Linked DNA regions of Homo sapiens: region 2 is linked to region 1. Evidence: promoter capture Hi-C in 16 types of primary human blood cells and fetal thymus (Javierre and others, 2016). All regions are on one chromosome and are shown on one strand. Each heading gives the region's core, a stretch centred on a gene start or on the middle of the fragment in contact. The rest is flanking DNA. Distances are from core to core; before and after follow the strand shown.

The links. The method cuts DNA at HindIII sites, captures the fragments that hold promoters and counts their contacts. A CHiCAGO score of 5 or more calls a contact.
Region 2: a fragment that was not itself captured here is called in contact with the fragment with the promoter of CNRIP1 in region 1 in 1 of 17 cell types (erythroblasts); the score reaches 6.5 in erythroblasts.

What each region holds. Positions count from the first base shown.
Region 1 is chr2:68,316,579-68,322,283 of GRCh38, forward strand. It overlaps CNRIP1 (cannabinoid receptor interacting protein 1), which reads right to left and starts at 3,371. Exons shown (of 3, transcript NM_015463.3): 1 at 2,644-3,371; 2 at 579-729. The coding sequence starts at 2,822. The HindIII fragment of the contact is 3,613 bases long and covers 1-3,495 here.
Region 2 is chr2:68,641,919-68,647,623 of GRCh38, forward strand. PROKR1 (prokineticin receptor 1) reads left to right here and starts at 1,661. Exons shown (of 3, transcript NM_138964.4): 1 at 1,661-1,930; 2 at 3,744-4,388. The coding sequence starts at 3,904. The HindIII fragment of the contact is 2,233 bases long and covers 2,294-4,526 here.

The DNA of each region.
Region 1 (5,705 bases), core at 2,121-4,620:
TTTATTATATATGATATCTGATAGGATTACCAGATATTATATATAATAGGTATATATAATATAGGTATATATATATTATATAGGTGTATATATAATAGGTATATATTATATAAAATAGGTGTATTATAGGATATTATATAAGAGGTGTATTTTTCCCATGACACTTTTTTTGGCTCCTCCATTTAGCTTTAAGTAGCAAAGTGTCATTCAAATCAGCTTTCTCTTAACCAGAATATTGTGGCCTACTTGGAATCAGAAACTTTTCACAGCCAATTATCTAAACCAGTTCTGAAGTAGACTATAACTGGGAAAATGGCAATGTAGGTTCTGTCTCTTCCAGAACCATCTGCTTCTGCTTATGGTGTCTTTTCAGCATCTACAGGGTCAGTCTGTCATGCAAAAGAGCATTAATTAAGTAGTTCTCTCTCCAGCAGATGCTTGAAGGAAATCCACAACTCAATTTCCACAGTAATTGGCTCCCAACACACCTTTTCTTACAGAGAGATAGTGATTGTTTTCTTTTCTGTGGTTTCCATTTTCCATGGCACCATACTCCTATACCCGCAAGCAAGCCTTACCGGCATGGTGATCTGGATGGGTTGCCGTTCTCCACTCTTCGTTGGGGTCACACCTTCTGTGTCATATGTACCCGTATAAACAACTCTGTCCCCATCAGGCTCTTTAGACTTCAGTTCCAGTGGGACAAGCACACCACCAATGGAAATATTCCTGCAATAGACTTGAGTTGACCACATACGGTTGAAATTAGCCTAGGCACCCTGTCCTGTTTTGGACCAAAACTCTAGGCAGGAAACTTACAGGGTTTCACTAAGGGGGGCATTGTGGTGCGGGAGAAAGTTCTGCAAGTTCAGGGGGCAGTGCTTCTCCTATTTATGAATTAAAAACCTACCTATCCCCAGCCCCAGACATTAGGATTCAGTTGGCCTGGGATGTAGTTTGGACACTGGTACATTTATTTTAAGGTTATCTAGGTGATCTTAATATGCAGGTAGGATTGAGAATACTGAACTCGTCCTCTAATATTTTTTTTCTCCTGTTCCAACAATCAGGGGTCCTATGATTTGGAGTACCTCAAGCCTTCTACACCATCAGAAATTCTCACTGGCATCATTCTTTTGTGTTAGGATAATGGTTCTCAAAGCCAAGTCCCTGGACCAGCAGTATCAGCATCACCTGCAGACCTTAGAAAACAAATTCTTAGGCCCTACCATAGACTAAACTAGAACTTCTAGGGAGAGCTCCAGCATCTGTGTTTTAACAAGCACTCCAGGTGATTCTGATATATACTCAGGTTTGAGAACCACAGGATTAGAGTTGAGAAATCCTTGATAGCATTAAAATGTAACCAGAAAAAATAGTTTTATTCCTAACAAATTAACTTTTAGATTAGTTTGAACACTAGAGGAATACTCTAAAAAAAAAAAAAAGAAATATATTAACAGATAACTCCGGGGATAAGGTTGGCAGGAAAGAAGGGAAAGGAAAAGCCTGGATTATATCCAGGTGCACAGAACACTGGGAAATGTGAGAATAAAGGGTGCATGGAGCTGTGGGGGATGCTGACAAATAGATGAATCAGGAGTACCAGAAACCATCCAGATTTGGTTCTAGGTCCTTGCACCTTGGAAGGCTAATACAAGTTTACTGAATTAAAACGTAAGCTATAAGTAGTATCTGATGAATTCAAAGTCCTTCCACCCCCGCAATAATGCCCACCATATGTAGTAGATACAATAAATGCTGGTTTATTTTCTCTCTGCAGACTAGACTTTGGTAGGTAGAAACGAGAGGTAAAGGGGCTCCACCCGCAGTTCTTCCGGGTAGGCTACTGCATGCTCCCACACACTTTCCCGCCAGAGGTCTACTGGGTGCATTATCCAGCGGTCGCTGGCAAGAAATCGTCCCTGCCATGGATAAACCAAAAAACATCCTCTTGCTGTGGGGATGTTGCTAATCCCAGGCACCATCACCAGCCTGAACAGAAAACTCAGGAGAAAAAGAACAGCATACGGCATGGAAAACCGTGAAACTAGGCCAGAGAAGGGGCGGCCGCTCTCTTACTAGTGTCTGCTGCTCCACCCCAGGGTCCCAGCCACTGAATGGCGAAGGGAGTGGGGAGCATCCCTCAGGGAGCCCCAGTAATCACCCCTCCCCTGCCTTTCCACCTCATTCCTCCTTTCTCCCTCCTTCAGCCTTGCGGGCAGACCCTGTGGGCCGCCTGGACCGCGCGCAGGAGGGCTGGGATTGCGGTGGCTGAACCCTGCGGACCTCTCCCATCTGCTCCACCCCGACCGCCTGCGGTTCCGCGCCCAAGGCTGGACAGAAGGCAGGAGAAATTTATAAGAAACAGACAAGCAAAAACCCTGGCTTCTTGTCACTGATTTTAAAGAACCCACTGAGGTCACTGCGATGGGTGGAGGGAAGCGAGAATGGAGGAATACAAGCCAAAGGGAAGGAAGGGGACGAAGGCGGACAGGGAGTGACCTCTTCCTCCAACCCCCGGGCCCGCTGGGAGCGGCGCGAGGCCAGAGGCCCTTGAGAGGCTCGGGCTGTCCTGGGGGCCTCAGTCCTCTGCCTGTACCCCATGGGGGACCCTGCTGCCACCAGGCGCCCCGCACTCACTCGACCTGCAGCGTGCTGGGTTTAATCTTCACCTCAACCTTGTAGGAGGAGCCGGTGAGCAGCTTGATGGTGCGGTTCTGGCCGAAGCGCTGCCCGTCCACCTTGTAAAAGACCGGGCCGTCATTAGGCTGGATGCGCAGCGCGATGGAGAGGCGCACGAGGCCCGGCAGGTCCCCCATGTCTGGGCGAGGGTCTGGCGCGGCGGCTCCGGGGGGCGGAGGACAGCGCCGGCTGCGGCCGAGTGGCTGGAGCGCGAGGGGCGGAGAGGAAGCGCGGGGAGGGTGAGGGAGGTGGTGGAGCTGAGGCTGCCGCTAGGAACCCGCGCCGTCGCCGCCGTCCGCCCGGGCTTTTGAGGAGCAGCTCCTTAGGCTGTGGCCCCCCTCCCCACTCGGCGAGGAAGCGGGCCCAAGAGACGGCTCCAAGGCCGCGCGCTTCCCCATCCCCCGCTCCAGTGCTGCGCCCTCCACGCACCCGAAGGCTCGCTCTGGCCCGCAGGCCGCCGCGCAGATCCGCGCAGCTGGGGGCGAGGGAGTTAATCCTGTTTACGCACCACAATCCCCTTCAGCTGGGGAAGCGGACATTTAGGCTCCTCCTAGAACAGCCCCGGGCAGGAGGAGGAGAGGTTTGGGAGGCACTGGGAAGGCGCTGGAGTTAAGCGACCACTATGCCAAGGAGCGAGACCCCCGGAATCTGGATACCGCCTCGGCCAGCTACGTGAGGTGGACACTGCTGCTCGCGGATCCGGCGCCAGCCAGGCGGGAGGAGGCTGAGGGGGGGTAAAGGGAGGCGGGAAGGGGGGACAGGAAACCGCTAGCCGGTGATTTAAATTTCAGGAAATATGAGTCTTTCCAAAGCTTAGGGGAAATGGCCGAGGAAAGGCGCAATTCCACGTGATGGAGCCACGCTGGATGAGGAATGGATGCAAGAGGAAGAAAATAACCATATTCAAGGAGCTACATCTTCTTGTGGGTGTACATTTCCATTATACGTATGCTCGTCCCAAAAATGACACATACATAAATATATGTAATGAATCACATATATTTACACAGATTTTGAAGGGTGAGCTATTAACCCTGTAAAAGGCAACTGACATGAGCCTAAGGCATTCTGGTGACAAAATGGCCAAGAGGTGGGATGGGTCAAAGGATTATTGGCAGGGGGCCATATGCGACACCGCAGAGTTTAGATTTGCATATTAAGCGTGATTAGACAGTTTTCGTGGCAGAGGTCGGTAGACAGCTGACTTTTGGAAGCGAGGGGAGACTCAGGGGGTGAGGACTATACTGGGAATGGCTTCCCGGAGCAGAGAGAGCACCTGCTTCAGCACCACCCAGATGGATAGTACCAGAGCCAGGGAGCACACCTGGGAAATGAAGTGGGCTAGTGAGAACAAATGGGTAGGGATGCGTTTCCTTGGCAGTTTTTGTTTACCCAAGTTAGACTGCTCTTTTTTAAGAAATAATAAGCTATACATATAATATATATGTAATATGGGTGTTTATTGCAACATTGGTTGCAAAAATAAAAATAAAACCTAAATGAAATGTTAACCAATAAATAAATGGCTGAATAAATTCTTATATACCCACACTATAGAACGTTACACAACTATCAAAATAATGAAATATAGGTTGCATTGGCAAACACACAGGCAAAAACTGTTAATGATAAAAGTGGGATGGCTGGGAAACAAAGCCTGAGGGCGAGCATTTTGTCTGTTTTGTTTGTTGCTGTTTCCCCAGCATGCCAAAATAGTGCCTGACACATAGTAGGTGCTCCAGAAATCGTTGTTGAATTGACTTACGGTTGTGGTCTTAATCATGTCCATATGTAAATTCTTTCACATCTTTAAAATTAATTAGATCCTTGCGATTTACCTGGAATGATGAAAAGAAATCTAATTGCAAGTAGCATCTCTAGTGTTTTAGAAAAATGAAAATTTAAAAAGAATATAAATGTGTATGTTTGTATTAGCTCTTTTAAAAGAATGAGAGAGTTACACAGTAAACTTAATGTTGGTTATTATGGTTTATGAGTAGTGGAAAGAGGGTGAGTATCTTTTTGGGGTCATTTAAAAGCCTTTTTGGAAATTTTGCCTTTTTTCCTCAACCTTTTGTTTAGCAACCCCACAATCTCAAGCCAACTTCCACCTGTGTATCAAAAAGAGCATTGGACCTGGAGGATGATGACTCCATTTTAAAACCTGGTTCTAAGGCCGGCATGGTGGCTCATGCCTGGAATCCCAGCACTTTGGGAGACCAAGGAGGGCAGATCATTTGAGGCCAGGAGTTCAAGACCAGCCTCGCCAAAATGGCAAAACCTGTCTCTACTAAAAATACAAAAAATTAGCCAGGCGTGGTGGCGCATGCCTGTAGTCCCAGCTACTTGGGAGGCTGAGGCATGAGAATCGCTTGAGCTGGGGAGGCAGAGCTTATAGTGAGCCGAGATCATGCCACTGCACTCCAGTCTGGGCAACAAAGTGAGACTCCATCTGAAAAAAAAAAAAAAAACCCACACAAAAACAAAAACAAAAACTCTGGTTCTAGCCTGGCTAGGTAGTGCACTCTTGCAGTCCCCACTACTTGGGAGGCTAAGGTGGGAAGATCACTTAAGCCGACGAGTTTGAGGCCAGTATGGACAAAATAGTAAGACTGCCATCTCATAAATAAATAAAATAAAAAAAACCTAACTCTGCCACTTTTTAGTTTCGTTATGCAAATAACTTAACATCTTTATGTTTCATCTTTGTAAAATGAGGATTAAAATACCTCCTTCCCAACATTGTGAGAATTGAATGAGGAAATGGAAATTGTTTGAAAAAAATAAATTACTTTTCAAATACGAGGTGTTACTAATGCTGGGCAATATCCATTAGGAATAGCATTTTCAGGACCATACAATGTAATGTCTTAAAATGAAATTAATAAATGTAAAAGTAATTGGAAAATTTATCATCACTGATACATATGTGCAAAGAATATGAATATGGAGTCTGATGGATCTGTGTTTGTGTTGCCAGATCTGTGGATTACAAACTGAGTGACCTTGAGCAAAGCTGC
Region 2 (5,705 bases), core at 2,160-4,659, 330 kb after region 1:
CTTAGTCCTTTAGAGATGGACTAAATGTCTGCCATCATTACAAAAGCATCTTGAACGTGATGGAGCTTATGCTGAGAGCTAAAGTTTATGTATTTTTATCTTTTAATTCCATTTTCCCACAAACTTTTGGAAGTTCCCATGTGAGTGTATGTGTGTATGTGGAGCATTTTGTTTGTCCCTTCATCATTGATGGACATTTGGATTGTTTCCATGTTTTCGCTATGGTGAATAATGCTGCTATGAACATGGATGTACAAACATGCCTTTGAGACCCTGTGTATTAGTTCACTTGCACACTGCTGATAAAGACATACCGGAAACTGGGAACAAAAGGAGGTTTAATTGGACTTACAGTTCCACATGACTGGGGAGGCCTCAGAATCAAGGCAGGAGGTGAAAGGCATTCCTTACGTGGTAGCATCAAGAGGAAACTGAGGGAGAAGCAAAAGTGGAAACCCCTGATAAACCCACAGGATCTCGTCAGGCTTATTCACTATCACGAGAATAGCATGGGAAAAACAGGCTCCCATGATTCAATTACCTTCCCCTGGGTCCCTCCCACAATACGTGGGAATTCTGGGAGATACAATTCAAGTTGAGATTTGGGTGGGGACACAGCCAAACCGTATCACCCTGCTTTTAATTTTTTGGGTTAGACACCCGGAAGTGGAAACACTCGATCATATGGTAATTGTATTTTTTAACTTTTTGAGGAAACCCTATACTGTTTTCTACAGTGGCTTCACCATTTTACTTTCCTACCGACAGTGCACAGGGTTCCAGTTTCTCCACATTCTCACCAACACTTGTTATCATTTCTTTTTACAGCTGGATAATATTCTATTGCATGTATATACTATATGTATTTTGTTAATCCACTTAGCTGATGGACATTTGGGTTGTTTCTGTCTTTTGGCTACTGTGAATAGTGCTGCCATGAACATCAGTGTATGTGTGTCCCTGCTTTCAATAGTTTGGGGTTACATACCTTGGAGTGGGATTGCGGGACTATATGCCTCACGTTTTGAGGAATCTATGGGCTTGTAAAGGTAGACTGTGCTCTGTAAGTCAGCGCTGTCCGTCCCAGCCTTCTAAGCAGACATCCCTGGGCGGGGGTCCTTCCTCTCTCCAGTGTGCTACCCCGCCCCCTTGTTTGCTCTCCAGAAAGCACTTCTCTGAGCCTCTTTTACGGAGAGGTAGGGCAGCTGGCAACAAAGATGGCCCTGGTGTCCGTTCAGGCTGGCCCAGGGGACCAGGTTGGGGCCGGCCCCTGAGTGTCCCCTGAGGAGGTGTGTGAGCAGCGGGGGAGGCTCCTCGGTCCTTTGCAAGCTCGCGGCTGAGCGGGGCCGTGTCCGTCCACTCCGACGGCGCTGGGCTGCCAAGGTGAGCCGCCGAGGAGCCCCGTGCCCCGAGGCGGGCACAGCCGCCCTGCATGGGTGCCCCCGGCGCGGGATTGACGCAGAGCCCTGCCCGGAGCCCCAGCGACCCCGTTCCTGCCCCAGGCGGCCGTTCCGAAGCCTGAGCCGGGCAACGCGCAGCCCGCCTGGCCCGGCTCCCTCCCGCGCGTCCTCGTCGCGAGCTGCCGCCTGGGAGCTCCAGACGCTCCCGCCCAGGGCGATCCGGACGCTCCCGCCCAGGGCGATCCCGGCCTCTGCAGCCCAGCTGGCGACACGCCTCGCCAAGAGCCCGCACCTCGGCGCCTCACGGCCACCGGAGGCGGGGACAGGGAGTCCGGCGCGGGCCGGGTCGGGGGATCTGCAGCGGCGGCGCGAAGGTAACTCCCCCGCCAGAGCCGGGAAAGAGCCCCGAGCAGAGGAGGAAGGGAGCGGGGACCTGCCCTTCGCCTGCCGGCTTCTGGAAGAAGCGTCTCCTGATCCGGCCCCGGAATAAGAAACCCGGACCTTGCCTGCCGGGCTCCGCGATGCCGCAGGTACAGAGCGCGCCCTCCCGGGGAGGATGCTCCAGGGACCCCGCGCTGCACTGGCTGCGGCCGTGGGGTGCGGCGGCTTCTGAGTGAAGAGGGGACTTTGCCAGGGATTCACTCCTGTGAGTTTCTTCAGGAGAGCCAGGCTTCCCCTCCTCTGTCCTTAGGGGAAGCTGCCCAGGCTCCAGGGAGAAAGTTGGGAGCAGGCGGGGGACTTGCCAGCAGGGGTTTGTGAGAGAGGCTTCTAGCGATCGAGAGGTCACCAGGTGGGGGTAGGATTGGGGTTCCCCTCTGAACGGTGAGAATAAAGGAGAAAAGACCTCTGGACAATCATCCTTAATCTCGTGACGCCCTCCTCTCCACCCCCGAAGCTTCTGTATTCTTTGCTTTTAAACACTACTTTGACCCTTCAGGTAGCATGCTTGTAGGGGTACCCCTCCAGGAGTGGCATGCCTCTGCGACCCACGGGACCTGCAAGGAGTGGGGCTTGTCCCGCCTGGGTTCCAAGCCTGCCCCCCTCCTTCTTTTCAGCTGAGTTCTGCCTCTCCTCCCTGAGTGGGCAGAGGGCAAGGGCTGAGCCAGACAGAATTGAGAGCTCGGAGGAAGGAAAAAATCAGGGTAAGGAGTTAGGACAGAGAGGCAGCAATGGGGCTGAGCCTCACTGGGGCGCAGAGGGACTTTAAACTTGGCCCCAAGAAGACAGGCTCCAGATGTTTTGCCTCGGAGGAATATGGAGAGCAGGCTTTCCTGGGGGTGGGGAGGTGGGGTCCTGGGCATCTTCCTCATCTTCCTTTCCCAGGAAAACTCTGGCTTGCATTCTTCCCTCTGTTCTCCTGACATTTGTTTTAGGGTGCTCTCCAGACCTCAGCCCTCCTTCTACGTCCCACTCCCTGGTCTGATGTCTTCAGGGTTTGGGAGGGACTGCAGGGAGAGAGCAGGGGACAGGGGGACTCTGGCTGCCTCCCTGTCCCCACCAGGGCAGCTGACACCCCCCTAGACCCCTCACCCCAGCCCCATTATGTGGTGTGGTGGAGTCCCTGTATCAGGATTTCGCTCCCCTTCCTTGCAGCTGACAGAGGAGGCCTGAGAGCGCAGTAGTAACTCCTTGCAGTTCTAGGGTGTAACACTCTCCTCCAGGGAGCTCCAGGCTGTGCAGACATTATTGATCTCCTGCCTGGCAGAAGTTGAACCTCTGAGTGTTTAAGCTATTTACCCCTGGACACTCAACCAGCCAAGGAAAAATTTTGCTCTAGCGTCCCCATTCTCATCACTTGGTTAGTCACAGGCTGTGACTTTACCCTACAGCCTCTGTCTGGGGACAGGCCTTCATAAATGCTGTTCCCAGCTTCTAGGGTCATAGCAGGTTCTAATGTGGGAACAGGAAGTCCAGCAAATAGTGAGGAAGGTGGCTGCTCTATGGCTCTGTGATTTTAGAGCCATGTTCTGCCAGAAGAGCAAGGAGAGCAGACAGGCTTGTCTGAAAGCCCTCCCTCTTAAATAGCATTTAAAGAAATTTCTTTCTCTTCAGCCTCCCCACACTCCCAACTTTTGTCCTTGAGAAAAGGTGCAACACTTCTGAGTCTTCAGTGGAACAGAAATAAACTGAGCCAGTGCTTGATTGTCTCTATAGCAATCCACCCTTCCCTAATTGAGTATGTGGTTTTCATTCATTTTCTCTCATTGGTTCCTTTATTTCCACTCCATCACCCTATGTTCACTCTGGGCAGGGAGCTAATAGGTCTGCTTAGGTTACAGGGTGGTTTTGAATTTGGCCAGCTTTACTGCAACATATAGCCAACTGTTTGTATGTCTTTCAAAGGTTTAGAATGGAGCTCAGATACCATACCCCAAAGATGCTGGCAGAGACATTCTGACTCATTAAGGGAGAGCTGGCTGATAGCAGAGAGGGGTGACATCAGCCTTGCAGACATTGCCCTGGGGAATTCTGAGCAGTGTTGCTCACAGCACCACCTGGCCAGATGGAGACCACCATGGGGTTCATGGATGACAATGCCACCAACACTTCCACCAGCTTCCTTTCTGTGCTCAACCCTCATGGAGCCCATGCCACTTCCTTCCCATTCAACTTCAGCTACAGCGACTATGATATGCCTTTGGATGAAGATGAGGATGTGACCAATTCCAGGACGTTCTTTGCTGCCAAGATTGTCATTGGGATGGCCCTGGTGGGCATCATGCTGGTCTGCGGCATTGGAAACTTCATCTTTATCGCTGCCCTGGTCCGCTACAAGAAACTGCGCAACCTCACCAACCTGCTCATCGCCAACCTGGCCATCTCTGACTTCCTGGTGGCCATTGTCTGCTGCCCCTTTGAGATGGACTACTATGTGGTGCGCCAGCTCTCCTGGGAGCACGGCCACGTCCTGTGCACCTCTGTCAACTACCTGCGCACTGTCTCTCTCTATGTCTCCACCAATGCCCTGCTGGCCATCGCCATTGACAGGTGAGTGCAGCAGCAGTGGGGACAACAAAGGCGGTCAGGGAGGAAGGGGCATTGGAATTGCCCCCTCCTGTACTGCAGTTGCAGATTGATGAGAGGTGTCTCTATTCCCCCTAGATGTGGTTGCATGGGGGACTCAAAAGCTTGCCCATTGACTGACAGTGAGAAGAGTTCTCCTTTTCCAGCTTTGTTCAGACAGAAGACAGCAGAGCCCTCTAGAGTTGGGTGATGGGAAGCTTTTGATCTCCCTTGCTATGGATGTTTTCCTAGATATTACACCTTTCAAGGTCTAGAGTAGACAGGTAAGAGGAGATATCGAGGGAAACTTTAAGCGTCAGGCAGTTACCTCTTGAGTCAATGTGGAAATCTTGAAGGAGGTTTCTATCTCATCAAGACTTCCTCTACTAAAATATGACCTTCTAGCATCATCTGTTTTTAAATAAGATTCAAGGATTTATGACTGGCTGTGGTAAACAGTTCAAGCCTATAATCCCAGCAATTTGGGAGGCCGAGATAGGAGGAGCATTTGAGGCCAGGAGTTCGAGACCAGCATGGGCAACATATCCAGACCTCACCTTTTGAAAAAATTAAAAAATTAGCTGAGCGTGGTGGTGTGTGCCTGTAGTCCTAGCTAGTTGAGAGGCTGAGGCAGGAGGATCACTTGAGCCCAGGAATTCCAGGCTGCAGTGAGCTATGTTCATGCCACTGTGCTCCAGCCTGGGTGACAGAGGGAGACCTTGTCTCTAAAAAATAAATAAATAAATAAAAATAAAAAGATTGAGGGATTTGTTTTGAAAAAAAAGGGAACATATGTTTATTTACTTTTTGTTGTTGCATTAATCACTTTGCACCTTTTAGTCCATTTGCACAGATAGTGCAGAAGACCTGTTTCTGGTGATCGCAAATAAAATCAGTAAGAGCAGCCTCTGCATATCTTTCTTCAACTTAGTCTCTTCCTTTAGTGTAAACTTGTGCTAATGGGCCAGGCTGGTCTTTGTTCCTCGGGGGACAATCTTTGCTAGCTCCTCTGCCCACAGCTGGACTGTCATTACAAAGCACCTGGTTACAGTCTAGAGACAATTATCCTGAGGATCAAATCAGGCTTCTGTGTACTTGGATCTGAACAGCCTGTCTCTCTCCTTTAACCCAGAGAGCCTGAGGCATACATGCTCTCCCTGTTCTCTGGCCTCAAGGATCTGAGGGGGTTTGACCTGGCCCTCACAGTCAGGACAGTGTTCTAGGGAGGAGCACAGCTAAGAGAGCTTGTTTTCTGAGACCGTAGGCAGGGCGACCAGGGGTGGGATGACCGAAAAGGATAAC